Linked DNA regions of Homo sapiens: all the other regions are linked to region 1. Evidence: promoter capture Hi-C in 16 types of primary human blood cells and fetal thymus (Javierre and others, 2016). All regions are on one chromosome and are shown on one strand. The core of a region is centred on a gene start or on the middle of the fragment in contact, and the rest is flanking DNA. Distances in the headings are between cores, read along the strand shown. Region 1 holds the start of FOS (Fos proto-oncogene, AP-1 transcription factor subunit). Region 2 overlaps YLPM1 (YLP motif containing 1). Region 3 holds the start of LOC124903348 (a long non-coding RNA gene). Region 4 overlaps DLST (dihydrolipoamide S-succinyltransferase). Region 5 overlaps TTLL5 (tubulin tyrosine ligase like 5). Region 6 overlaps DLST (dihydrolipoamide S-succinyltransferase). Region 7 overlaps FLVCR2 (FLVCR choline and putative heme transporter 2).

Region 1 (3,789 bases), core at 453-2,952:
CAGTAAAAGTGTCTGCCATCACCTCCATTCACCCACCCCAGTAGAACTGGCTCCTGCAGCTTCCCTGCTTCCTGGCACCCCACTGTGAAACCATTTCTGACCTGCAGTTGCAGACTAGGTGTGACTTGCATTTAAAATAAGATCCTCAGCAAGAGAACAAAGAAGAGCCCAGTCTGAAAGCATGCGGTAAGAAACTTAGGGAAGAAACTATGAGAGTACTTCTTAGGGTGAGACTCAGAGTCTGAGTTGGGATGGAATGGGCTTGGAGCCAGGGCTCCCAGTTACGGATGTGCAGCCAGCCCCATCAGTGGCTTCATCCTCTGTACTGGGCTCCTGCATCTCCGGGGCTGCTTCCCACCCAGCCCCCACATTCCCAGGAAGAGTACGCTAGAGTTCCTCACCTGTTCCACCTTGCCCCTCCTGCCAATGCTCTGCGCTCGGCCTCCTGTCATGGTCTTCACAACGCCAGCCCTGGAGTAAGCCCCAGCGGAGGGGGCGGGGACTCCGAAAGGGTGAGGGGCTCTGGTCTGCGATGGGGCCACGGAGGAGACGAGGGCGGGCTGCACCAGCCACTGCAGGTCCGGACTGGTCGAGATGGCAGTGACCGTGGGAATGAAGTTGGCACTGGAGACGGCCAGGTCCGTGCAGAAGTCCTAGAACAAAACAGAAGGGGAAAGCCGACGTGAGCGAGCAGGTTCCGGACACAGGTGGGGCGAGTTCCCAGTGCCGCATGCAGCAGTGAAGAGAAACGATCCTGCCACGGACATTTCATCTTAAATGTCCCTCATCCTGGATGAAAGGTCTCCCCCTTTTCCTCCCAGGCATTCCGCAGCGCAGTGCCTGTCTCTTCCATCCTGCCGCTGCGTTCCCGTTATCCCTTCAGCATCACTTGCTTGAAAGGGGGTTTGTTATAAATATCCCTGACGTCTGCGCTGACGCAGGCGCCGCTCCGGAGTCTCCAGAATGAACTCGCTTTTTATCAATGAAACTGCCTTACACACCCGCCCGCTGCACCCTCCTCCCTCATCCCTCCTCCGTGCTCCAGGCTGCCGGGGGAGGGGGGATTGCCGCTTTCTGCCACCTCCCCGGAGAAGCCAGGCTCTAGTTAGCGAGTTTGTGCTTGGGACACGTCTGCTCCAGCTAATGTCAGAGATCCGTCCTGGAGTGCAGACCAGAGGTTGCTCAGAACGAACCTGCCTCCCGAAGGGGGAACCAATTCTTACTATGGCAAGCGTGCGTGCGCTCAGAGCAAGTCCCGAGCCCCCGAGCCGGCACCGCTCCGGCCACGGCAGCCTCCCTCCAGGCACAAGGGAGCCCCCTACTCATCTACTGGAGCGTCCCGCCCGGTGTCTCCTCCTCCGCGACCCCAAGCCCCCGGCCCCGCGGCGACGGGAAGCCAGCCTTACCTGCGCGTTGACAGGCGAGCCCATGCTGGAGAAGGAGTCTGCGGGTGAGTGGTAGTAAGAGAGGCTATCCCCGGCCGGGGACGCGCTGCTGCAGCGGGAGGATGACGCCTCGTAGTCTGCGTTGAAGCCCGAGAACATCATCGTGGCGGTTAGGCAAAGCCGGGCGAGGGGCCGAGGGGCGGAGACAGGTGGGCGCTGTGGAGCAGAGCTGGGTAGGAGCACGGTCACTGCTCGTTCGCTGCGCCGCGGCCGCCGGCTCAGTCTTGGCTTCTCAGATGCTCGCTGCAGATGCGGTTGGAGTACGAGGCGCCGCAGCCACTGCTTTTATAACAAGCGTTTTATGAATGAGTGTAAACGTCACGGGCTCAACCACGGTGGCGCCAGAGGGGTGGCGCGCGGGCCTGGGCGCTTCTGCGGCCGCCCGGCTGCGTCCCCAGCGCTCGCAGCTCCCTGCCCCCGCCTTGGCGCGTGTCCTAATCTCGTGAGCATTTCGCAGTTCCTGTCTCAGAGGTCTCGTGGGCCCCCCAAGATGAGGGGTTTCGGGGATGGCTCCCCCCAGGGCTACAGGGAAAGGCCGTGGAAACCTGCTGACGCAGATGTCCTAATATGGACATCCTGTGTAAGGGGGGAGGGATTGACGGGAACTGCTCGCGGGCTGCAGCCAACACCGAGGGTGCAGTGCGGGGGGAGGCGGGGGCCGCGGCTGGGGGAGGGGAGGCGGGAACGGCGCAGAATGAGAGAGAACATTCGCACCTGGTTCAATGCGGACCCTTGTTCCCGAGGTCGGGGGGGATGGGGCAGAGAGCGCCTTTTTACCCTTGTACGGAAACTGAAGACAGTTCTGAGGCTCAGAGATAGGAGAAACGGCATCGAGTACAGGACCCCGAGGACTTAAGCCTCGGCTCCCGAAGGAATGCGCCCCTACCCCCATCCCCAATTCTAGCCCTAATTCAGTGCAAAGCGTGGAAGCAGACCTTCATCCCCTAACCTCCAGCCCTCGGGCTCGAGCAATACTAGCACTGTTCCTGCGTTTGGAAGCAGAAAGTGGAGGATCCAAAATAAGAGAATACGATAACCTACTTTACGATACTGGGTACTTTATTTATTTATTTTTTTAAAGAAGACAGCGCATTTATTTATTTATTTTTCTCGGCCATGTGTGGGAATATTAAGGAAACTGTCAAATCCCTGAGACACCAGCAGATAAACACTGTGCAAAACCTACGTGCGAAGACATTTGAAGGGGGTGTCTGCCCGGTTCTGAGCTGGGCCCCAGGGGTAGGGAGTGCGAGGTGTGGTTATGTGGGCAGGGTGGTCAGTTCGGGATGACAAGGCGGGGTGTGCTTCCTGCGGGGAACTCAAATCTGCGCTGAGGGCTGGTTCGGTCCCGCCAGGAAGCTGTGCTTACGGGAGCCCGCAGCGGGTGATTTTCCAGCGCGGACTTGGAGGGTGGAGGACGGGGGCTGGAAGGACAGTGTCCAGCTGCGCCTGGGCGGAATACCTCGACTGCTGGGACCCCAGGAGCGGCTCCACGTCCTGGAACACGGGGCTTTGGGGAGGCAAGGTGCTCCAGAGTGTGCCACGCCCCCCAATCTCCTGCCCTGCTGCGTAGGACAGCCGGGGTCACGCTGCCGGGGCTCAGCCCCAGCGCGCTGGCCACCTCCAGGGCGCGAAGACGCATGTCCCCGCACAGCCCCGGTCTTCCCTTCTCCACTCTTCGGGCCCGGGGGTCGGGGCCCGCGGTGGGCACCTGGAGAGGGGCGAGGCAGGATGAGGCCGGCGGGCGGATAGTTCGGGGCGCGCGGGGAGCCGGACCGCAGACCTGCCTCCAGCCGCCGCGCCCGGGAGCCAGGAGATCCTGCTATAGATAGTAACAGGGAAGCGGCTGTTTACAGCAACACAGCGCCGCCAGGGCCGTCTCCAGGCAACGCCGCGCGGCCGGGCGCGCCGTCGGCCTGGCGAGGCCACCCTCCCTCCCAGCTCCCCTGGGCCGCGGCCTCCCCGGCCCGGCCGCGGCCGCTCCCGTCGCCTGACATCATCCGCCGGGTCCGGGGGCTGAGCGGCCCGCGCGAGGCTGTGCGCTAACCTCCATTCTTAGAGATCCAACCCGGCAGGAGCGGGGAGGGCAGGAGGCGGGGATTCGTGGAACTGGGCCACTTGCTATTTTTGCATTCCCTGTCACAGGCAGAGGTGAAAACAGAATTTCATCATTGTATGTCATTGGTTTATGTTGGTGGGAATTTAGGCGCTTTTTTTTCTCACTCATAAAAAGGGAGGGAAACGGAAAAACACACATAATACGTAAACACAGATTCCTTGGAGCTGCTCTGAATCCTAAAGCAATTCTGCGGCCTTCGGTACTTCTAATTCTATCCTTGATTAC
Region 2 (3,789 bases), core at 390-2,889, 440 kb after region 1:
TAACAACTAGTACATACTTACTCTTTCAGAACTATAAAATAACACAAGAAGAGAGCATTTTTAGCAAAATATGCTGTCTTCTTTATCTCAAACCCTTTGAAGCAACCACACAGTAGGCTATTTATATGACTGTGTACTCTTACCTTAGAGGAATAATGACTCCGTTCAAAAACTAAGTCTCATATATATTTGGTTCGATTGAGGGCTTTTTCAGCCAGGTGACCACTTTCATCTGTGATCTTCTCCCAATCAGTCTGTCCGACCACAAAACCTATGGCCCTTTTCCTATCTGCATCCTTCTTCTCTTCCAGGTCTGCCCATCTGACCTAAAAAGAACATAGCATTAGGCTGAGCTTTAGGAAAAATAAATATGCAAAGAGCCCCCTCCCTCTCTGGACAGTCTAAGGGGTAGAATGACTCATTTGAAACCGCAAGTTTAAAAAATTAAAAACTAACCCAGGAAAACTGGGAAAAGCCATATATTTTAAGTCACAAAGAGAAAACTCTCTGGACAATCCAAGTCCTAACCATTCCAGCTCCTGAACAGTTCAGCTCAATCCTGTCCTCTCTTTCTCCTCTGCCATTCCTTTTTATTTAATAATTCACTGACCTCATTTTTTTTTCACCTGAAAGCAAAGCACTAATCTCTACCTAGTCTTCCTGTCTGTACTCACCCGCTCCAGATTCATGCTGCCAGAGTGATCTTCCTAAAACACACAGTTGTGATTCATTTGCTTTAACTCCTTCCCCTACCTACCAGGCAAAGTCCAAGAACTCAGGTCCCTCTTGATCTGGCCCCAACTACACTTTCCTGCAACATCTCTGGCCAGTGCCTATGGCATTTTATACAAACAATACAGACTTCCTTCTAGCACTCAGAGCGCATCGCACCATTTCATGTCTCTATAACTCTGCATATATGTACTAGTCATTCTTCCTGAAATGTCTTTTCCCTAACCTTATCCACTTGGCATGAGTCTAGTCATCCTTCCCTGACTTACCCCTTTTTCCTTTGCCAATCAAATAATCACTGCTTTCCACAGTTAACTTCCGGATTTTGATATGTCTGCTTTTGAACTTCCACACCGTAGTATAATTATCCACTTACAGATCTGTCTTCCCTAACAGACTATCAACACCCTAGATCAATAACTGAATTTTATTTATCTCTACACAAAAATATTTCTTGAAATTTAATCTTAGAGAAAACAGTAAGCTGGTATTATTACTTTCATTCATGAGATAAAGAGACCAAGAAACAGACTCAACTGATATAATTCATGGCAAGATTACAACTACAAATATATGGATCAGGGATATTTCCTATTGGTATTCTGATTTTTAATATATATATATTCTTACATATTATGCTTTTTAAAAATTTTTGTAATTTTTTTTTTTTTTTTTAGAGTCAGAGTCTCACTATGTTGCCCAGGCTGGTCTCAAACTGCTGGACTCAAGCAATCCTCCTGCCTTGGCCGCCCAAAGTGCTAGGATTACAAGCATGAGCCACCATGCCCAGCCACATATTATGTTAATATGTTTTTAAAAGTATATGGAGATATACATATTCTGTAAAAGTTCAGATTCTTAAAAAGAAACTATGAATCTGTTGCTTGCACTACACAGTATCAAAGACTGCAGAGAATGTATTTTAAACATGGCTTGTGATTTATTATCTGTGACAAGGAGAGAGAACCAGAGCATGGAAACACCATGCTCTTTACACTGAACCTGGGAATGCATTATTGCTCTAATGTACACTAATTACCATTTGCATGACTAGCAATGAAATAACTAGGCTTTTAACAGTATCACCTGGTCAAAGGGAGGAGCCAAAGTAATAGCAGTGGGAAGAAACTGGTAACATCTGACTTTCCAGAAAGTAGGTTTTTAGTGTATAGAAAACCTATGGCTCAATGTCTTTCATGGGCTTTAGTAAGAAGCCTAATAAATAATGTGGGCTTCAATATAGAAAAATCTTTGGGCATTCTGCTCATCAATGCTGAAGTACCTATTTTGATTAATTCATATATACAGCCAGGCACAGTGGCTTACACCTATAACTCCAGCACTTTGGGAGGCCGAGGCCGGCAGATCACGTCAGCCTAGGTGTTCAAGACCAGCCTGGGCAACAAGGCGAAACCGTGTCTCTACTAAAAATACAAAAATTAGCTGGGCATGGTGTGTGGTGGGTGCCTGAAATCCTAGCTACTAGGGAGGATGAGGTGGGAGAATTGTTTGAGCCTGGGAGGCAGAAGTGGCAGTGAGCCAAGATCACACCACTGTACTCCAGCCTGGGTGACAGAGAGACCCTACCTCAATAATAATTAATTAATTAAATTTAATTCATGTATATTCTCTCAGCTCCACCTGGATCAAGGATACACATTTTAGCGAAAGATCATTACGAACTAAGTCTTGGGCATTTATGTGAAAACACAATACTGTGCTCAGGATGCCGTGGGAATGGATTTAAATTTGCTGTGGGCTGGTTACTTTTTCTTTGTTCAGTGGCCACAGTTTGCCCCTTATATGGTAAGGCTCATTGAATAAAGAAAAAGTAAACAGCCCACAGCAAATTTAAATCCATTCCCACGGCATCCTCAGCACATAGTTAAATATACTTATCAACCTCAGCACATAGTTAAATATACTGATCAATCTCACCTTGCTACTTTTAAATCTACAGTTTAAATTCTAAGTTTTAAACTCAGATAAAATAAAGAATATAGGATTAGAAGAAAAAATGTGTAGGTGTTTTTGAAATGAGTAGTATGTTTGCGAATAAATGTTCAAGATTTTAACATTGGAATTAGGCCAGGCACAGTGGCTCACGCCTGTAATCCCAGCACTTTGGGAGGCTGCAGCAGACAGATCACCTGAGGTCAGGAGTTTGAGACCAGCCTGGCCAACATGGCGAAACCCCGTCTCTACTAAAAATACAAACAAAATTAGCCGGACGTGGTGGTGGGTGCCTGTAATCCCAGCTACTCAGGAGGCTGAGGCATGAGAATGGCTTGAACCTGGGAGGCAGAGGTTGCAGTGAGCCAAAATCACCACTGCACTCCAGGCTGGGCAACAGAGTGAGACTCTGTCTCAAAAATAAAAAACAAAAAAACAAAAAACAAATGAAGTTGGAATTAAAATATTTTGGAAACTATTGTATTTTGTTAATATCTCTAATTTATACTGATGCTATAGTAAAATTATTTATTTACATGTTGAATTCCTCCACTGGATGTCAGCTCCTTAAGAGGACTCATTCATAGACTTCGTACAAAGACATTCAACATATGGAATGAATAAATGATTACCGAACCACTAAACATACAAGGAGCAGAATAATGACTTTCAGCTTGAAATGGCTTCTTGAATATCAGTGTCCCTTTTAATTTTCCTAGAGGTACTTTTGAGACTTACGACATTTTTGCTGTTGTTTTTTCCTGTAAAAATAAATTTGTTATAATACAGAAAAATCTTAACTAGCCCTCAAAGGTTTGAGGTACTTATATTTCATCCACTGTAACTATAAGTATTTCTAAAATATACAAATTCAGCAAACAAACAAGGGAAAGGTTCACCTTCCATAGTCATCAAAGAAATACAAATTAAAGTCCAAGTAAGCTACCATTTTATACCCAAGCAAGCAAATATTTTAAAAGTAAATTATATTTTAAAGCCTAGCCATTTAGGCAAAATTCTAATATAACCAACTCTACAGAACCACGTTTTTGTTATAGAGGAAGTTAATCCCAAGAACCCATCTGATATCTGTAACAAGCTGAA
Region 3 (3,789 bases), core at 553-3,052, 420 kb after region 1:
ATGAGGGATAGTTCTGCCAGGCAAATGGAGAGTGGGTACCACCCAACCATTCAAGCTTCTTGAGCAAGAGCAAAATATGAGCTGGTATTCAGCCTGCTTAGATGTTTGCTGGTTATAAAGGCAACACTGTGAAGGCAATGATAAGAGTGACAGCCAGAATGGGGACCACCTAGTTTACTCTTCTCGTTTTACAGCTGAGGAAACTGAGGCAGAGAGGGGAAGTAAATCTCTGCTTGGGGTTTTGAAATGGTTTATCTGGGATAGAATTGCCATCTCTTCCCATCCCACTTGGACACCACACACACACACACACACACACACACACACACACACACACACAATACACCAACCTGTATTTGACATCTAAGACACCACACACACACACACACACACACACACACACAAAATACACCAACCTGTATTTGACATCATCTATGCTACATAACTTTTCCACATCGAGATGATTTTTACATTCTGTGACTTAACTGTGCACATATGTCATCCAGCTTATTTGACCAGAGTTTCCAGAGACAGAAAAATGGAGCAAATACACAATTCCAATCAGAAAAACAAAATGAAATCAAATAGAAACCACAGGAACAAGGAATTCACTAGTTAATTGATAAACTGGCATTTTAAAGTGTTCATTTTCCTTGACACTGAGATAAATCCAGGAGGGTCTAAACCCTGGTCACTTGAAGAAGGCCAAACTAATGTTTTTCTTCACACGATATCCCAGCTCCAACCTCCTGAAGGTTTATTTTCCTGATGTTCAGGTAAAGTCACTCAACTAAATGGCAGCTTCTGCAGAACTCCCAAGAGGCAGTGTGTTTTGCCTGGTGTGAGGCAAGTCCTAGGTCATCATATGTGCACTTCAAGCTCCCCTTAGTGTTGCTGATGGAAGCAATGTCCAGTTCTGGGCTGAGACTCTACCCAAATAACCGTGAATAACTTTAGGCTAGAAAGGCTGGCTGTCTAAATTCTTAAGCTACTGAGCTGTAGATAATCCCCAAAACAGAAACACATGGGCAGGAAAAGTAGAGGGAAACAGAAACACTAGTTAGTGGCCTTTTTGGCTAGTTTTCTGCCTTGGCTGGGGACACTATGAAAAATAAAATATAGGCCAGGCACAGTGGCTCATGCCTCTAATCCCAGCACTTTGGGAGGCCGAGGTGGGCAGATGACCTGAGGTCAGGAGTTCGAGACCAGCCTGACCAACATGGTAAAACCCCATGTCTACTAAAAATACAAAAACTAGCTGGCGTGGTGGCGTGCGCCTGTAATCCCAGCTACTCGGAGGCTGAGGCAGGAGAATCACTTGAACCCAGGAGGTGGATGTTGCAGTGAACAGAGATCACGCCACTGCACTCCAGCCTGGGCGACAAAGCGAGACTACATCTCAAAAAAAAAAAAACACACAAAAACAAACAAACAAACAACAAAAAATATATATAGAGAGGGAGAGAGAGACAGAGTGTCAGACACTGTCAAATTTATGTTCAAATTGCTATAGTTCAAAACTGAGTGAAAGTACATACAGATGAAGTGTGACAATAAGGAAAATCAAACTAATTGTTGGGACCAGACCTCCCCTGTTCCCATAAAAGGTTTCTGAGGGCCTCTTTTACTTTGGGTGTTGGGTTAGGGGCTGTTAATACTTTTGGTCTACATCATTCAAGCTTTTCTTTCCCTCATATTCAGTTGGTTGGTTGATCCCTGAAGCAACCTCTGATTTTGATTTCAATTCATTCCACAATTCAAAGTTGCTAATAAACTGCTCCCTGACCTACATCTTGCCCTTCCCTTGGCCCTTTATCCAAGTGGAAGGCCCCAGGCCTGCCATGCAGTCCACCTGGGTGCAGCAAAATCTGGCACCACACTGGTCGTGACCCCTAAGTCCCACTCAAACACCACAAAAAGCTTTTCATGGGTAAAACAACCCCCATAAATCTAGCATATCAAAAAAAAGTTATGTTCTAATGGGCACTGTAGCTAATTTAGATTTTTCTGAGTATAACTAAATAGGCTTGGAAAATAGCGGTGGCTTCGCTTCTTTTTTTAAAGGAAGCCCCTGTTAATGCTGGTTAAAGCCGTATATGAACCCCTATACTGAGCTGGAAGCAGACAGTTCTAATTCTGAGCACCTCGTGGCAAATGTCTGACTGGATGGACCTCTTGTTTGTACAGTTCAACCGCTGCATTACCTCCCAGATGATCAAGTGGTTCAGCAACTTTCGTGAGTTTTATTACATCCAAATGGAAAAATCTGCCCGGCAAGCAATTTCAGATGGTGTCACAAATCCCAAAATGCTGGTGGTTCTCCGCAATTCAGAACTTTTTCAAGCTCTCAATATGCACTACAACAAGGGAAATGACTTTGAGGTAAGACCATGTACTGGGTTCCCATGAGATCTGATGAGTGTCTTCCCTATATGATTCGAGTTTTAGGAAAGATCCCTCTTCTGTGTCTCCTTAAGTTACTGAGAGCCAGGGCAGCCTGGGCCAATCTCTGTATCATCCACAAAGATTACAGCCTCAACATCTTCACTTGGGCAACAGGTGGAAGCAGCAAACTGAGTCAACAGCCAGTCTTCATTCTGAAGCTTAGTGAGAGGGCTGCCAGGTGTTACACCATCTTAGACTGAATACCCTGTCATTATCAAGTTACATAACTTCCTGACCTTTTTGCCTTAGTGCCAGGAGGCTCAGGACTGAATGCTGAGCTCAGTTGTGGCACCTAGTCTTGGCCTAGGTTTTCTCAACAATTTCTATGCTTTTCATGATTTGATTCTTATCTGTATTTTCCCTTGAAAATGTATCAGTGGGCCTTCCATAGCAAGTCACCTCAAATCCTTTCTGGAAATAACAATAAACAACACTCAAGCTCAGTCCCTCGGGGATCCCTATGAAGGCACACTGGTGGCACCTCAGAGGTAAAGCGTCAGTGAAAGGTGAGCCTAGGTGTCACTGGCGCACATTCCTAATCAAGAGATGCATGTTGCCTCATGCACAGCTGACAGCTGTTAGGCTGGCATCTGATTCTGCAGGTGCCGGGTATATCTGGTCACAGATTACACTTCCCTCTTCTTGACTTCTCCCTTGACTGTGATCACAAAGAGTGGTTTATTGATACCTCCAAAAAATACAAGAACTGTGGTCATCCACTGGTTGACTGGTGAGTCAGAGTATGTTTGGAAAGCTAAGACTACCTGTGGGGAAAATTGTCCATGTCTCCCTTTCTGAGGCTCAAGGGGTCACGGCCAGTATGGGACAGGCAGCACTGCTGCATCTTTCCACATAGGGTGGTCATTTGACCTGCAGTGGCAGCAAGCCCCAAGCCAAGCTGGGTCTGGAGCTTGGCAGTGGGGCAACCCATCATTCATGGTGCCAGTCTGGGTTAGGATTCTAGAACAGCACCCCCGTCAACCAGCTCTGAAAGCAGGAGTGTAAGCTCTTCAGACCCAGCCCTAAAAGGCAGTGGAATGAGGTATGACAGTCAGAAGCTTGGGGGCACTCCTTTCCACAGTTAGTACTAGGGAAAAGAATACCGAAGTCTCTTTGAGCCACAGATTTACTTTCAGTAAGATTTTCTGACCTGCTTAGTTAAAAAGTCGCCCATTAGCGAGATCAGCTCCTCCTACAAAGGAAGTGTCCTTAATTCACCTTCTCCCAGGGCTTTCTCACTGGAGCTGTCTTATCAAGGTTTGTGTCTGATGAGGAAGCAGAGGAGTCCTAGGGTTGCAGAATCAGGGGCCACTAGAGCAGGGATGCTCCTAGCCCACTACCCAA
Region 4 (3,789 bases), core at 473-2,972, 390 kb after region 1:
GCTCACGCCTGTATCCTCCACTTTGGGAGGCTAAGGCAAGTGGATGGATTGCTTGAGCCCAGGAGTTTGACACCAGCCCAGGTATCATGGCAAAACAACCCCATCTCTACAAAAAATACAAAAAACAACCGGGCATGGTGGCATGTGCCTGTAGTCTCAGCTACTCAGGAGGCTGAGGTGAAAGGATCTCTTGAGCCCAGGAGGCTGAGGATGCAGTGAGCCAAGATCAGGCTACCGCACTCCAGCCAAAGTGGCAGAGCAAGATCCTGTCTCAAAACAACAACAACAAAAACCCTCATTGTGATGTAGAGTAAGTAAGAAGCTCATCCGCTGACCTCTTCACTTTGAGGATTCTCCCTGTAGAGTAAGCAGCCTGACAGCTGCTGAACAGGTTACTAGAGAGCATTCTCTTAGCACCACCACAAAAACACTTGGAATGCAAAGCAGCATTTAAGCAACATTCATACGCAGAAGTTAATCTGAAACACACATGGGTAGCCTTTCTCCAAACTCTGCATTATGCAATAACAGCATTCCCTCCAAACTAGTCAGTCAGTCCCAGGACTCAACCAGTTTTATGCTTTTACTGTTTTTAAAAATGAGTAACTATGCTACTGAGAGGATGCTCTCAATCTCCACAATAAATGTAACCTCGAGCCTTTCAGCTGCACTTACATCCAAACAGAATATCTAGGAGCACCCTTCTATATCCCATAAAAAGAGGATTCCAACTTAACTTTCATTATAATCCAAACACCTGTGGAGAGTGGGCACACTCCCAGTCCAAAACCTGACACGGAGCTGATGCTCAAGGAACATCACATGGGAAAAGTGAACATTGAGGTTAGTCTAGGGACTCAACATAATCACCTCAATTTCTAGGTCTGGAGGCCAGTGAAGAAATCAGATGGTCAAATTTAGAACTTTATGTCTTTAAATAAATAACCCGTGGCCACATATCTGTACTCCCCAGTGATACTTACACAACCTTCCTGCTGTTAGGGTAACCTGGTCCCTGGCATAAGGAGACCCCTGCAAGAAACAAAATAACTCTTAACCAACAACTCTTATCTCACAAAGGATACATGCTGGGAATGGAAAAGGTCTGCTCACCCCCAACCCTGAGACAGAGCAGGATCAACGGCAACGGATATAATCTTTATCATAGAGTCCTGCTTCTCAAACTTTTCCAAAGTAGCCTTAGTGGCAGAGAGCAAATGGGTATGTGAGATCGAGTGGGTATGTGTTTGGCTGGGGAGGAAAGAGAAAAAATTTGATGGCACAGCCCAAAGTGATTATATAATCTCATCTACCTTAAAAAGCCAGAACTTTTCATTATTCCTGTATGTTTTCATAATAAAATGTCTCTACTCGCCAAGTCTTCAAATACAACTGAAGCTTGAGAAAGACATGGGATGGCTTATCCTGTGACTATACATAACCCAATTTGAGAAGCAAGGAGGATGTTTGGTCTGGGTTTGAAAAGATTGGGTTGGAAATCTTATCACCTGAATCCTAGTAGCAAAGACTTGGCTACTTTAGGCTCGGGGTCTCCAGTTTGTCCTAGAGCTGAGAAAATCATGTCCCCATCTTTCAGTTTATTGACTTCCCATGCCTTTCTGAAGTCTTCCACCCTGGTCACTCTCAACAAGGTGAGAGACCCTTTCTGCCCACCAGCTGTCCTTATCATAGTTAACTGCATTTCCCCAACTGATGACTAGTAACTACAGCTGCCTCTTCTGAATTCTTTCTTATGTCTTTTTTCTTTCAGATTAACAACTCTTTCTGAACCATGGGCTCAGGACACACCAAATGAGAGCTAGCCCTCTCTTATGCCCACCTCCTCACAAGCATCCCAAGATAGGTAAGCCAGTCACCTTTATGTCCAGCAGCCAATGACTATGCAGTGCAAATTCTAAGCATAGTATGTTTTTGAACTAGAATAGATGGCGGCTCACACTGATTTTGGGAACCTGGAGTCCAATTCAGAGTTCATCCTACAGCAAATTTCATTTGTACAGTGCTTTAGGGTTTATAAAAAGCTTTCCCATAATGACCTCATTTTGATTTTACAGTCTCACAACTCTCTGAAGTGGAACGACCATCTGCCATTATTCCCATTTCATATAAGTAGGACTTTTGGAGGTTAAGCGACTAGCCCAAGGTGAATCCCTGAGCCCAAATGCAAATCCCCAAGTGCAAGGCTCTTTCCATTGTCCTGCCCACCTATGAAGTGGAGAAAATGTTTACTGACATTGTTCAGGGTTCCCACTTGAAAAACATGTTTGTTATTGAGAGTCCACTACAAGCCGACATTGTGCTAGGGGCTTTATGTTCTCATAACTCTCAGGATAAAGTCCACACTTTACGCGATCCTGTACCGTCCAGCCCACTCTATCTTTCCTGCCAGACAGGCTTCTTCCCATGTCTATCACTGGTCAAGTCCTTTCCTGTCTGAAAACCTTTGCACAAGCAATTCCCTTTGCCTGGAATACATTTTCTTGGCTCTTTTATATTCAGGTCTCAGTTAAATGTCACTTCTTCAGGGAAGCCTTTACTGACATTCCCAACCTTCCCAAGCTGGTCTACATCATCCCACCCTCTCATCACACCCTTTAATTCCTCTCTCGTAGTAACCAAAATTTATGCCCTTGTCGGAGCATAAATGTATATTTGCTCTCTCTCTCCAGCTAGCCCATAAAATCTCGAGGCTAGAGTCTATCTATACCCCTGTTACCTAGAACAGTGGCTGGCATATAGTAAGCACTCAATAAATGATCTGTTGAGTCCATGAGTAAATGAGAACATGGTGGGTTAAGAGTTCAGGATGGGTCAGGTAGACCTGGCTTATCAACAGCTGGGTGGGTGACCATGGCCAAGGCTTTTAAGCTCTCTTGTCTTGGGTTATGCATTTGTAAAATAGAGAAAATACTTTTTACTGTTTTGAGATGATTAACTAAAAAATTCACAGAAAGCACTCATATAAATGCTTGGCACAAAGAAAGCCCACAACAAGGTCAACTCATTCAACAAATACTTAGGCTAGGCATATAACAGAAAAAAAGCTATGGATGACACTTTTTTCTTTTTAACTGCTAGGATAAAATCTAAACTCCTTCAGTCTCTATACCATCTTCTATCTCTTGCCACTCTCTCCCTTAACCAAAATACTCCGGCCAAATCACCTTTTTTCCAGCTCTTAAGTTCTGCCAACCTCTTTTCTTCCTCAGGGTCTTTGTGAATGCCATTCTCTTTCTCCTGGGCTTCACTGGGTTAGCTCCGTCACATTCTGCTAGCCATAACTTTTTTTTTTTTTTTTTTTTGAGATGGAGTCTCGCTCTGTCGCCCAGGCTGGAGTGCAGTGGCGCGAACTCGGCTCACTGCAAGCTCCGCCTCCCGGCTTCACGCCATTCTCGTGCCTCAGCCTCCCGAGGAGCTGGGACTACAGGCGCCTGCCACCACGCCCGGCTAATTTTTTGTATTTTTTAGTAGAGATGGGGTTTCACCGTGTTAACCAGGATGGTCTCGATCTCCTGACCTCGTGATCCGCCCGCCTCAGCCTCCCAGAGTGCTGGGATTACAGGCGTCAGCCACCGCGCCCGGCCATGGCCATAACTTTTAAGTCACCTCCTCAAAAAGGGCTCTTCTGTCCACCCTCGTTTCCTTCTCAGCAGTTACAAAAATTTGCCTTTGTTGGCTTGTTTAGCAACTGACACTATCCAACTAGCCTAGGAGCTCCACGAGGGCAAGAACTGTACACTTCTGTATCCACTCCTGTATCCCTAGCGT
Region 5 (3,789 bases), core at 395-2,894, 390 kb before region 1:
ATGCTAAAAGGAAAAAATTCAGAATGATTAGGAAACTGAAAATTGGGACTTTATATTCTCATTCACATCAGAAACTGGTACATATTAAAATCCACTTTTATAGGCATGAAAAACAAAGGATTTGAATAATTACCGAAGCAGATCAGTTTTATGATTCACTTTATTGAAAGCCTAAAAACATTTTGGTTTTCCGGGAATAATTTCATGAGAAATAGACATCATTCACTCCTGGGACCCAGCCTACATAACTCAAAGATGGAGCTGTAAGCAGCTTTTGCATTCTTGCTTCTAGGCTGTCTTCATACCACTACCCCTATTAGAAATGCCTTCCCCACTTCTGTTTATCTAAGCCCACTCTCCAAGGCCTACCTAAAGTCTCACCACCTTCAGGCAGCCTTCCCCAGCTCCTTCAGCCCATTACGATACTTCCTTCTCTGAACTCCTATAGCACCCACTTTATAATTGATTGTTAATAATCTTTTTAACTGATATAAAGCCAGCCTTTTACAATAGCAATTAAAGTTGACATTTTTTCAGTGACCAAAGAAATCTTACATCACGTTCTTCTACGAAAGCTTCTATATCTACATACAGAGTTGTATTTGGGATCCCCAAGCAAAATATAGAAAAACAGCCTCTTTACATTTTCTATTTGAAATAATACCATGCAAAACAAGACTGCCTGGATAGTTTCTATTCCTGAAGTCCACGATTGCAAGGAATTAATACTTTAACACAGCCTAGGGATCTGAGCAGATCTAACAGATGTCCATGGATATACATCTTTGGATCAAGTCAACATCTTCCGATGATTTATGGCCTTCAAACTTCTAAATCAACTTTTAAAATGTAAGCCTGCTGCTTCAGGTGTGAACAAGATTGATTTAAGCTTCCTAATGTAAAAAATAAGTGTCTGATAGACAAGACATAAGCTGATGAAACAAGATTAACAGTTAAAAATCAACAGTAGGAGTCTAAAAGGAGGAAGTGGTCCATAAATTTGGATGGGAGCAGAGGGAAAATTACACCTTTATTTTCACTAACTTTTACTAGAAATTCAGTATTTCTTAATTATGAATATAGGCAACGAACCATAGTAATATTAGCATTATCTGTGCCTTTGACGTTATCTAAAATTACAGCAGTTTTTTTGTTTTGTTTTGTTTGAGACGGAGTCTCACTCTGTCTCCCAGGCTGGAGCACAGTGGCACAATCTCGGCTCACTGCAACCTCTGCCTTCCAGGTTCAAGCGATTCACCTGCCTCAGCCTCCCGAGTAGCTGGGATTACCCACAACCACACCCGGCTAATTTTTGTATTTTAGTAGAGACAGGGTTTCACCATATTGGCCAGGCTGGTCTCAAACTCCTGACTGCAAGTGATCTGCCCACCTCGGCCTCCCAAAGTGCTGGGATTACAGGCGTGAGCCACTGCACCTGGCCAATTACAGGTATTACATTTGTCACTACTTCTAAGTTATAGTAGTTTAAGACTCACCCCTAGATCACATGTGATCATGGTCTTTCTATCTAAATGCTAGTGTGATGAGGTTGGACAACAATTGGGCAACTCTCCTCCTAATAATCATTCAGTCACTAAATGATGACACCTCACACTGGTGACCCAGACATCTATGCTGCTTCCCAGTACCCCCGACCTATGATTGTTAATCAAAGGCCACCCTCCCAGTGTACTGATCTTACACAAACTAAACAAAAACAGTCTTCATGTTGTTGTCTTTAGAAAACAAAATTTAACTTTCCCAGATTTGAAATGATCTTATTATTTAATGTATTAGTAAAACAGCACATATTACTATGTTACAAATGTGTTTTAATAACTGCATTTGAATGTAATTAGTACTCTTTGTAATAATATGTATTTTATTTTAAGCCTTAAAAACATTATTCTGGTAAGGAATCCATGGCATAAAAAAGTTAACAACTCTGATCTAAGGTAATGTAAAGTATAAAGCCTTCATTTATTCCTTCATTTCGTTATTCAGTCAGCAAGAATTTACTAAGTACCTACTATAATATTAGGTCAAACTATCTGCAATCGTCAGTATTTGACTGTTTCTGACCTACCAAAATGGCAGTTTCATATAGTTCAATCTAACATTTGTCAGGCCCAATCTGTAAACCCACTAATAAGAGAGACAGTAATGGAGTAAAAGAACAACCTTTAAAAAGGGAAAGACTGATACTTGCAGCAGAAGTTAAAAGTTTTATGAAATGGGTAAGAGGCAGCACACCGAAAGCAAAAAGTCAGAAGAAGGGAAAGTAACCAGAGGGAATTATCCATTTAATTATCCTGAACAAGAATGACCCAAATATACTTTCAAATCTCTATTAGTTTCTATGACCTAACAGTGATAAGAAACGTTTCCTCAAAGCTTTCTTAATGCTTCAACAATTTTTTTCAAATTACAAGTAATCTTGTATCTTACAAGAAGCCCACCATAAATTCAATATTAAAACCAGTAAAAATAATGCCTTACATTTGTATAGCACTTACAAAGTAATTTCACATACATTATGCTATTTGAGTCTAACCAGACCCCTACAAAATAGCCTGGGAGATATTATCTCTATTTTTCAGGTTACATAGCACACACATATCCAAAAGGACTCAGGGAGAATCTTAAAAATGAATTTTACCTTTAAACCAGATTCTCTCTTTACTCTGTGTCAAGCAATAATTAAAGGAGGCAAAAGAGCAAAGTGATCAAAATCCAGAAAAGCTAAGTCCAAATCTCAATGCATCACTTACTCTCTATGGGTCACTGAGGAAATTTCCTGATAAGACTGAGTTTAAAAAAGTGAAAATAATAACACCTTCAGATTTAAAAAGATATAAGATATAGATGAGATAAAGCCTTTATCGTCATCTGTAGTAGCTATATTTATCATTATCATTCTTTTTTTTTTTTTTGAGATGGAGGTTTGCTCTTGTTGCCCGGGCTGGAGTGCAATGGTGAGATCTCAGCTCACTGCAACCTCCACCTCCCAGGTTCAAGCCATTCTCCTGTCTCAGCCTCCCGAGTAGCTGAGATTACAGATACCCACCATCACGCCCAGCTAATTTCTGTTTTTTTAGTAGAGATGGGGTTTCACCATGTTGGCCAGGCTGGTCTTGAACTCCTGACCTCAGGTGATCCGCTCACCTCGGCTACCCAAAGTGCTGGGATTACAGGCATAAGCCAACACACCTAGCTATTATTCATTCTTATTGTGATGATCCAGTAATCATGAAATTGGACTCTTAACTAAAAGAACTCAGGAAAGCAGTGTGGGTCAATGGACACAACACAGGCTATAGAACTCTAATATCCTGCCTCAGAGTTACTATGGTAAGTTACCTGACCTCTCTATATTACCACCATTTTATCATTGTAAAGGCTTTTGAGAAAATTAGCAAACGTAACTAATGTTGTAGAGTTTGGACATGCTTTTCTTCAATACTTAAACATTTCAAAATCTTCTGTTGGGAGTTCTGAGCAAGAGTTCACCAAGAGCTACTACTTGCATTTTACAACATCTAGAGCTGATGTTCACTTATGGGCCCAGAAAGAGAGCCTTATCTCATTTCTCATAGCTGATAGGGACTGAGTAACAAGACCTTAAATGACATTATGGATAGAAGCTAAAACCAGAGTTAGATAATCCCCAAGGAATGACACTAGATAAAAGAGTACATAAGTAAAAGAGAAGAGTATATAGTAAAACAGTATATAAGAGTATATAAGTGAAAGAGTACAAAGCACAGGTTGAAAGCAGGCTTGCTATTA
Region 6 (3,789 bases), core at 734-3,233, 380 kb after region 1:
CAGGGCTGGTGGTGAGCAGCATGCCATGTGGGCCTCAGGGGAAGGGGTGGGGTCGGGGAGGACCAGGTTCTGTGGGGAAGAGGATGAAGAAGCCTTGGAAGAGGCTCATGGTGCCTGGGGGAATACCAGTTTCATCCTCACAGTGACCCCTTGCAACAGACGGTAGCTCCTGAGAAAACTGAAGCTCAAAAAGGTTAAGGACACAACCTAGCCAGAGTTGCAAGTTAGTGTTCCTTCTGCTACTCTCCCTAAGTCAGGCTGGACCACTTCCAACCACCGCTTCATGAAGCACAAGTCCCTTCTGGAACTTCTGTGCTTCATCCACCCAAAGCTACACATCTGACACTTTGTTGGGCCCTGAGTTTAGAATACTGTGGGTCCCAGCTCTTACAGTCGACCTCCTTTCGATAAAATGGGGTAAATAATGCCTATTTTGCAGGTTTACCAGATAGATAAATTAAAGCTTCTAACACCAAATCCTGTTCTTCCTTTCATTCAACCTAATTTGTTTTTCTATCTACTAGAGCTCTAGTTCTACTCTCTGGGACCCACTTCCCTCCTGTGACAGACCTTCACAGAGGGATGGCCTCACTGCAAGAGCTCAGCAGACAGGGACTCTGGAAAAGACAAGGCTGTGTTTAAGCCTGGACTCCATCACACCTGCCACCTGCAGTCTAGGTTAGCTACCCACCCTGTACACTCACGCTCACTGACCACTGCTCCTAGGTCATCAACCCTCACCTGTTCATGTGTATTGACCTTGAGCATCTTGGTCCACAAGGCTATCAAATCCAAATGAAATGAGATGCCCCCACTCCTCCCAAATCCATCACTGAAATAATGTAAGCCCACACAAAAAATGCAAGTCTACTGGTGTTTTGAAAGGGCTTCACAAAGATGGTGACCCCAAATTCTCTATTCTAGAGTATGGCTTGACAGGCTCAAGGAAGGTGGGGCACTAAGAGACTATGATGCTTTATGGAAACAAAACAAAAAACATCCTAAGCCCCCCAACCATCTGTATGGACCCCTCGTCTCAGTCAAGGGTATTCCAAAGTTAACCTGAAACGCTAGTTCGGGCCATGGTGGGAAGAGGGAGCCAGCCATTCCTCATTATACTCCCCTCCCTTTTGGAATTACTGTTAAAACAGGCTCCTTAAGTCTGATGAGAAGCATTTACAATCTATTTTCTCTGAAGCCTGCTGGCTGGAGGCTTCATCTGCATAAAACCTTGGTCTCCACAACCCCTTACTGTAACCCAGACATTCCTTTCTATTGATTCCAGGTCTTTAGATAATAACTCTTTCAACCAATTGCCAATCAGAAAATCTTTGATTCTGCCTATGACAACATCCCCAGGTCTTGAGCTGTCCTGCCTCTCCAGACCAAACCACTGTACATCTTACATGTACTGACTGGTATCTTATGTCTCCCTAAAATGTATTAAATGTATAAAACTAAGTTGTAGCCAGACGACCCTGGACACATGTTCTCAGGATCTCCTAAGAGTTGTATCACAGGCCATCAGTCACTCACACTTGGCTCAGAATAAATCTCTTCAAATATTTTTACAGAGGTTGACTCTTTTTGGCAACACTTTCCCGGCTGGCAGTCAGGGTTCTACCTTCTGTCAAATTATGAGTGTTAAGTTCCACATAAGGGATTTCTGATTTCACAAAATAAGCAACAGGACCTTGAGTGGCTTTCAATAATTTCAGTGCAACAGTGCTGGGGACTTGTACCACCTCAGTAGCCAAAAGGAACAGATACAGGAACCCTGTTTGAGAATATCTGCCCTTTAATTTGCATTTAAAATCAGTTTCTTTAAATACTTTAGTTACAAGTTCTGAATAGTGAAGACAGAGTAGTAGATGCTGCAGGCACTCAGTATTGGCTCCCACCCCTTCCCCCCTCCCCCACCCCCAGGCCTCACTTCTTGGCTTAAGATACAAAAGGGCACTCTCTACTGGCCCTGGTGTCAAACGTCAGCAGCCTCAGGCCTGGATGCAGTTGGATACAAAGCCATGAATCCCAGTGGCTCCAAGGAATTCCAATGATTGTGCCCAGATCCACGGGCAACACACCTTAGAAATGACCTCATCCGTTTCACCACTAGGTACTAACACCCTCAGGGTGGTTTCCTACCCCAGTCCACGTCCTCCAGATCTGTGTCCTGCAGAGGAAGAGACAAGGCCCCGCTATAACGCAGGAAGGAACAAAAACTGCCTCCTCAGCCCAGGTGCTTACAGCAACTTAACTGAAAAGCTCAAGGCAATGTGAGTCAGTCTAGAGGAGACCTCCCTTCCCTAGTCTCTACCAGGCTCTGGCCCTTCCTCGGGACCACGCTTGGTCCCACTGCCATGATGTGCTAGAATCTGCTCTAAGAACAAGGTGCTAGAATGAGGCCCAGCAACCAGCAAAGGGGTTGGAAAGGGTTGCTACAGCCCCAGCTGTGTGAGATTGTGCCAAGACGAGTCTTCTTGGTGTCAGCCTATGATGGAGAGCGTGAGGGCAGGCCTGGGCTCTCCTTCTATGATGATTACAATGCATGACCTCAGGGGACCTCTGCCCTCTCCTCCCACTCACACACCCAGATCCCCTGGCCTGTGCTTCCTGGAAGAGGTAGAAGAGGCATCTTGAAGTCAATGACAACGGAGAATGAAGGTGCCATTGAAGAAGCAAAGCAGCACCTCTTTGCCTGTGTTCAATCCCTCCACACAAGTGGAATCAAGGGAGAATGTGCACAGCCAGGACAGAGGCTGCTCTGAGCTTGGGAGGCACAGCATCCTCCTAGAAGTCTCTGCAGAACAAACTTTCAAAAGATAGGAACTTAATCACATGGTCCCCAGGGGTTTCTCTATAGTATACCAGCACTAGGGAAAAGCAAAATCATCTTTGCAGAGAGCTGATGGAAGAAAGGCAGGAATATGAATGAGCATCCATTAAGGCTCTCTCTCTTAAGCCTAAGGAATTAAGATATTCGAGGCTATGAGACAGGTGCAGAGAGGGAGAGCCTGGCAGGAACGCCAAGAAAAGACCTGTGACTGCTGGTTACACAGTGCTCTGCTTCCTTGCTTGAGGCCAACAGCATGTGTCTGCCTGTCACCAGGCTAACCCGGGACCCATGAGGGGACAGGGAGAAGACTGGTTTTCAGTTCCTGCATGATCAACTTGTAGGGTGTGTGGGTTCCTCCTAAAGATCCAGGAGGAGGACTCTGGGATCCTCTACCGCTGCCTTGATTTTGCGGAGGAAAGTCACAGCCTCTCTGCCATCAATCAGCCGGTGATCATAGGTCAGTGCCACGTACATCATGGGCCGCACCTCTACCTACAGAGAGGAAAGGTAAATAGGTTTGTCTCCAGCAAGCCACAGCCAGCCTCGCTGAAGGAGATTTAGCACAGCCCATAAGAAAGTTCCTAATTCCAGAGCCTTTCCTATTGATGTTGCCTCTGCATATTTACAGTATTTCAAAGACCAGGACTTACCCTCAGTGCAAAGCTTCCCCACTCAGAAACAAAGTTTGCCAAGAAAACTGTCTTCTCACAACTGCCTTTTATTTTTTAAAAACATACTCTGCCCTCTAACGCATCTGCTGCCTACAAGGAAAGTTTTCCCTTCAGTTCTGGCTGCCTGTACTTGCTTCTCTCTGGGGTTAGAATTTAAAAAAAAAAAAAAAAATTAAGCCAGGGTCTACAAATTCTGGAATTGTATGTGTAGCTGGGTGTATGGGCATTTTCCAGGAAGATCTACAGACTGTGGTTTCACACAGGAGTCAGTAACCCAAAAGG
Region 7 (3,789 bases), core at 659-3,158, 370 kb before region 1:
AAACCCCGAGGAGAATGCACTGGAATGGACAGTTGCTCTTAAACCCTACCCAGAGGGCCTCCCCCAGCTGGACCCTCATACACAGTGTGTGTATCCAAAAGGCCATTGCTATTTCAGCAAATATTTGTTGAGTACTTCTCCATGCCGGACACTTGGGAAAGAGAAATGAACGACACAGGCAATGCCCCTGCCCTGTGGGCCTTATATTATAGTCAAGGTAACAGAATCAACAAGCCAACACAAAAATAAAGAACTTCAAATAGGGATAAGAACTCTAACAAACACAAGGTATTTTGGTCAAGAAGGAATGTGGGGTGGGCAGTGGGGAACGTAACTTAAATTAGATCATCAGAAAGTCCTCCCTGAGGAGATGGGATTTTTTTGTTTTTTAGAGACAGGGTTTCACTCTGTCACCCAGGCTGGAGTGCAGTGGCACAATCACACCTCACTGCAGCCTCAACTTCCTGGGCTCAAGTGATCCTCCTGCATCAGCTTCCCAAGTAGCTGGGACTACAAGTGTGTACCACCACATCCAGCTAACATTTTTGGGGGTGGGAAGAGATGGGGTCTTACTATGTTGTCCAGGCTAAGAGGTGGGATTTGAGCTGAGACTTGAATGCCCAGGAGTTAAATGTCTTAAGATATGGAGCAGGCCGTTAGAAAGGAGGGAGCAGCAACTGGAAGGTAGAATAGTCTTATTCAAGGAATAAGAACTATGTAATCACAGCATGGTGAAGAGTTAGGAAGTGAAAGAAAAGGTCAGAAAAGGAGGCAAGGGGCTTATAAGGGTGTGATAAGAAGCTTGATGTTTACACTTAAATACATTGGGAATTCTCTTATCAGTTAAGTCTCTTTAGGTGAAAGGACAAAACCTACCTTAAACTAGCTTAAACAATAAAGATAGCTGGCTCATATAACTGAAAAATTACAAGATTAGCTTCAGGAAGGGTTTGATCAAGACTCCAGCTCCATTTCTTTACGATTCTTTCAGCACTACCTATGTGTGCTGGCATCCTCAGGCTGACTTCTTTTATGGTACCAAAGTTGGTTGCAGAAATTCCAGGCCTCATATGCCCAGAACACTGTATCTAGAAAAATATCTCAATGGTAAGAACTATCTTTTCTTTACTTGTCAGCTATATTGTTAGGAGGCAGTAAAAAAGCAGTGATGACAGTTAATGTTTGAACACAGATCCACATGAAGACCTTATGAAAGGAGTGAATGAAAACATTGGATGATTTAGGTCCTCTGAGCATGTGTCATGAAAATGTGATGCCCTGGCCGGGTGTGGTGGCTCACGCCTGTAATCCCAGCACTTTTGGGAGGCTGACACGGGCAGATCATGAGGTCAAAAGATCGAGACCATCCTGGCCAACATGGTGAAACCCCGTCTCTACTAAAAGTACAAAAATTAGCTGGGCATGGTGGCGTGTGCCTGTAGTCCCAGCTACTTGGGAGGCTGAGACAGGAGAATTGCTTGAACCAGGAAGGCGGAGGTTGCAGTGAGCCGAGATTGCGCCATTGCACTCCAGCCTGGCGACAGAAAAAGACACCATCTCAAAAAAAAAAAAAAAAAAAAAAGTGATTCCAGATTAGTAAAGGCAGGGACCCAAAGGATCTAAAGAGATGTACAGTTAGAGTATTTAGCAGACACTATGGATATTAGATTTCTTAACAGCCCAGGCTTGGGTCCCTTCCTAGATCATTTAAAATAGAATCATAATATTGTTCCTCCCCAGCTACGAGTTGCTATAAATATGATGCTAGAATACCACAGGCACAGTACAACTCTCTATGGAAAGAATGTACAGAACACAGATGATAGTAGCAGCATATTCAAGTAACACGCACAAGGTGATCACAACTGGGGAGGGATGAGTAACAGGACGTTGGCCAGTTAGGAAGAAAAATGGTAACGCAAGACTGCAGCTGCTGGGACTGAGCCATGGGCCCCAGCCACAGCAAGCTGATGCATGGCTGAGGTAATCAGAGAACAAACATTTCAACCACCCTTTGAGGCAGAGCCAGAAACAACAGTGGACTCTCTCATCAGCAGTCACTCACATTCCAGCGCGTACACAGCATGGAAAGAGGTCAGGGTCGTGCTGGATGTTGAGTTGCAGTCCCTCCATGTAGGCAAACAGTAACCTTTACAGCCTTGTCTTTAAAAAATATCCCTCCCAGATGGTAAGGTCTGGCAACAGTGAGATGCTCCTGTGGAAGACCACAGTTGCTGCTTCTCTAGCCTCACACTCCCCCGCCCCAGCCCAGCCCTTCCCCACACCTAAGACAGGAGCCTCAGGAATGTGTGACAGTCTTGCAGGGACTTCTAAGAGCCATCTCTGCCCCACTGAATGATAAGGCAGACCACTTTCTGAGAAGTTTTTATTGCCTCGAAATGTCAGATCTTACAAATAGAAAACACAAATTATGTTTTTAAAATAAAGCAATAGGTTTGGTAAACATTTTGTTAATACCTTTTGAAGGGTTTATGAGTAAACATCTTTCTCTTTATCAAAAAGTAAAGCACACCCTCACCTCTCTTCCACACTGACTCACTACTTCTGCCGAAAACGTGGACTTCTTTCTTCTATTACATACAGCATGTTCCTTGCATCCATTGCTTGAATCTGTACAAACACACACACACACACATGCAGACACACACAAACCTGGCTCCTCTCAGGCAGTGGCCCAAGCACCACAGTATTGCAGCCAGCACAGGCTGCCCTGATATGCTGAGGCCAGGGCAGTGGCTGGAGCAAGACAGCACAGTGGTCACGATCACAGTTGCCCAATGCATAGGAAAAATTACCAAAACCTCATTTTTAGGAGATATTACCAAAGCCCATGAGTACAGCCAAACAGCAGGCTAGATAGGAAAGATCAGCTTGAGTTGGTTTAAAGGGAATCCCTTTAAGTTTAGAATATCTGATAAAGATTATCGCTCAAAGCAGGTGAGGAGAGGGGTTGGTGGTGCAAATACTGTCCCCAGCAGAGGTGAGATAAGCTTTTAATTCTAACAGGCTCAATTCCCATTTCAAGGGGCACCTTTCCTTCTACCCCTTCCCTCTTATCTCTCAGAAGCACCTTTGGATTTTCAGAGTAGAATGAATCAAGATTAGTTTTCAGCAAAGGTTAGAGTAAGTTGACGGGGATTACCCTGCCTTGGAATAAAACAAGCACTTGGGCTGATGGCTGAGATTCCCAATGCAACATCAAGATAAAGGCATCAGAGGTGACTGTGACACACAGAAGTCCCTGGGGAAGTACTTCTGTAAAAAAGAACCTTCCCATTCCCAACTCAAGCTACCAGAGTTCCCAAATATGTGCTTTCACAAATATACTCAGAAGGTAGCCCCCAGCATGATCACACCTAGGTAGGTAGCCCTCCTGAGTCGGTATCTCTGTCATGGCCACAACAAAGTCTTTTGTCAAGTTTATTATGGTTGGTTTGCTCAGCTCTTAGGAAAGAGGGTTTGGAGACAGACCCGTTAGGCCAGGAAAATTTAGGCCCACAAGTCCCGGTGGAGCTGTTCTGATGGAGTTGTTCTAATGGTGCTTCCTCTCCTGCAGAACTTGAGCAATCAGTCCGATGACCCAGGAGATGACCCCGGCAGAGCAGCTTGCCACTTATTAGAACTGGGCTTCATGAGAGGCTCTTAGGACACTGGAAATTTCAAGTTAATATCCTGAATAGGCTTTCTTCCTGTGAAAATTTTGCAGGCATTGTCCACGATGGATGGAGGAAAAGAGGGAAGGCAAGAGACCAAGCTAGGATTGACTCC

The links. The method cuts DNA at HindIII sites, captures the fragments that hold promoters and counts their contacts. A CHiCAGO score of 5 or more calls a contact.
Region 2: a fragment that was not itself captured here is called in contact with the fragment with the promoter of FOS in region 1 in 1 of 17 cell types (naive B cells); the score reaches 5.1 in naive B cells.
Region 3: a fragment that was not itself captured here is called in contact with the fragment with the promoter of FOS in region 1 in 1 of 17 cell types (naive B cells); the score reaches 5.4 in naive B cells.
Region 4: a fragment that was not itself captured here is called in contact with the fragment with the promoter of FOS in region 1 in 1 of 17 cell types (erythroblasts); the score reaches 5.0 in erythroblasts.
Region 5: a contact is called between a fragment that was not itself captured here and the fragment with the promoter of FOS in region 1, in 1 of 17 cell types (activated CD4 T cells). The highest score is 6.9, in activated CD4 T cells.
Region 6: a contact is called between a fragment that was not itself captured here and the fragment with the promoter of FOS in region 1, in 1 of 17 cell types (erythroblasts). The highest score is 6.4, in erythroblasts.
Region 7: a contact is called between a fragment that was not itself captured here and the fragment with the promoter of FOS in region 1, in 1 of 17 cell types (activated CD4 T cells). The highest score is 11.0, in activated CD4 T cells.

The regions. Positions count from the first base shown.
Region 1 is chr14:75,276,741-75,280,529 of GRCh38, reverse strand. It overlaps FOS (Fos proto-oncogene, AP-1 transcription factor subunit), which reads right to left and starts at 1,702. Exons shown (of 4, transcript NM_005252.4): 1 at 1,407-1,702; 2 at 402-653. The coding sequence starts at 1,547. RefSeq lists enhancers at 1-784, 1,371-1,430, 785-1,712 and silencers at 1,801-1,860, 2,211-2,300, 3,029-3,538. The HindIII fragment of the contact is 6,704 bases long and covers 1-3,789 here.
Region 2 is chr14:74,831,802-74,835,590 of GRCh38, reverse strand. YLPM1 (YLP motif containing 1) reads right to left here. Exons shown (of 21, transcript NM_019589.3): 20 at 144-326. The coding sequence ends at 180. Among named protein-coding and RNA genes, the nearest start is that of PROX2, 42 kb to the left of the region's middle. The HindIII fragment of the contact is 5,354 bases long and covers 1-3,789 here.
Region 3 is chr14:74,855,394-74,859,182 of GRCh38, reverse strand. It overlaps PROX2 (prospero homeobox 2), which reads left to right. Exons shown (of 6, transcript NM_001243007.2): 4 at 669-776; 5 at 2,188-2,382. LOC124903348 (a long non-coding RNA gene) reads right to left here and starts at 677. Exons shown (of 2, transcript XR_007064269.1): 1 at 417-677; 2 at 1-350. RefSeq lists an enhancer at 3,303-3,789. The HindIII fragment of the contact is 241 bases long and covers 1,682-1,922 here.
Region 4 is chr14:74,882,829-74,886,617 of GRCh38, reverse strand. It overlaps DLST (dihydrolipoamide S-succinyltransferase), which reads right to left. Exons shown (of 15, transcript NM_001933.5): 3 at 984-1,032. Among named protein-coding and RNA genes, the nearest start is that of DLST, 2.8 kb to the right of the region's middle. The HindIII fragment of the contact is 644 bases long and covers 1,401-2,044 here.
Region 5 is chr14:75,663,229-75,667,017 of GRCh38, reverse strand. The region is part of intron 2 of TTLL5 (tubulin tyrosine ligase like 5); the gene reads right to left. Among named protein-coding and RNA genes, the nearest start is that of TTLL5, 3.9 kb to the right of the region's middle. The HindIII fragment of the contact is 1,505 bases long and covers 892-2,396 here.
Region 6 is chr14:74,901,735-74,905,523 of GRCh38, reverse strand. DLST (dihydrolipoamide S-succinyltransferase) reads right to left here. Exons shown (of 15, transcript NM_001933.5): 15 at 1,781-3,328. The coding sequence ends at 3,194. It overlaps RPS6KL1 (ribosomal protein S6 kinase like 1), which reads left to right. Exons shown (of 12, transcript NM_031464.5): 12 at 1-1,573. Among named protein-coding and RNA genes, the nearest start is that of RPS6KL1, 20 kb to the left of the region's middle. The HindIII fragment of the contact is 3,036 bases long and covers 466-3,501 here.
Region 7 is chr14:75,646,751-75,650,539 of GRCh38, reverse strand. FLVCR2 (FLVCR choline and putative heme transporter 2) reads right to left here. Exons shown (of 10, transcript NM_017791.3): 10 at 2,373-3,789. It overlaps ERG28 (ergosterol biosynthesis 28 homolog), which reads left to right. Exons shown (of 5, transcript NM_007176.4): 5 at 1-749. Among named protein-coding and RNA genes, the nearest start is that of ERG28, 12 kb to the left of the region's middle. RefSeq lists an enhancer at 1,900-2,194. The HindIII fragment of the contact is 2,210 bases long and covers 804-3,013 here.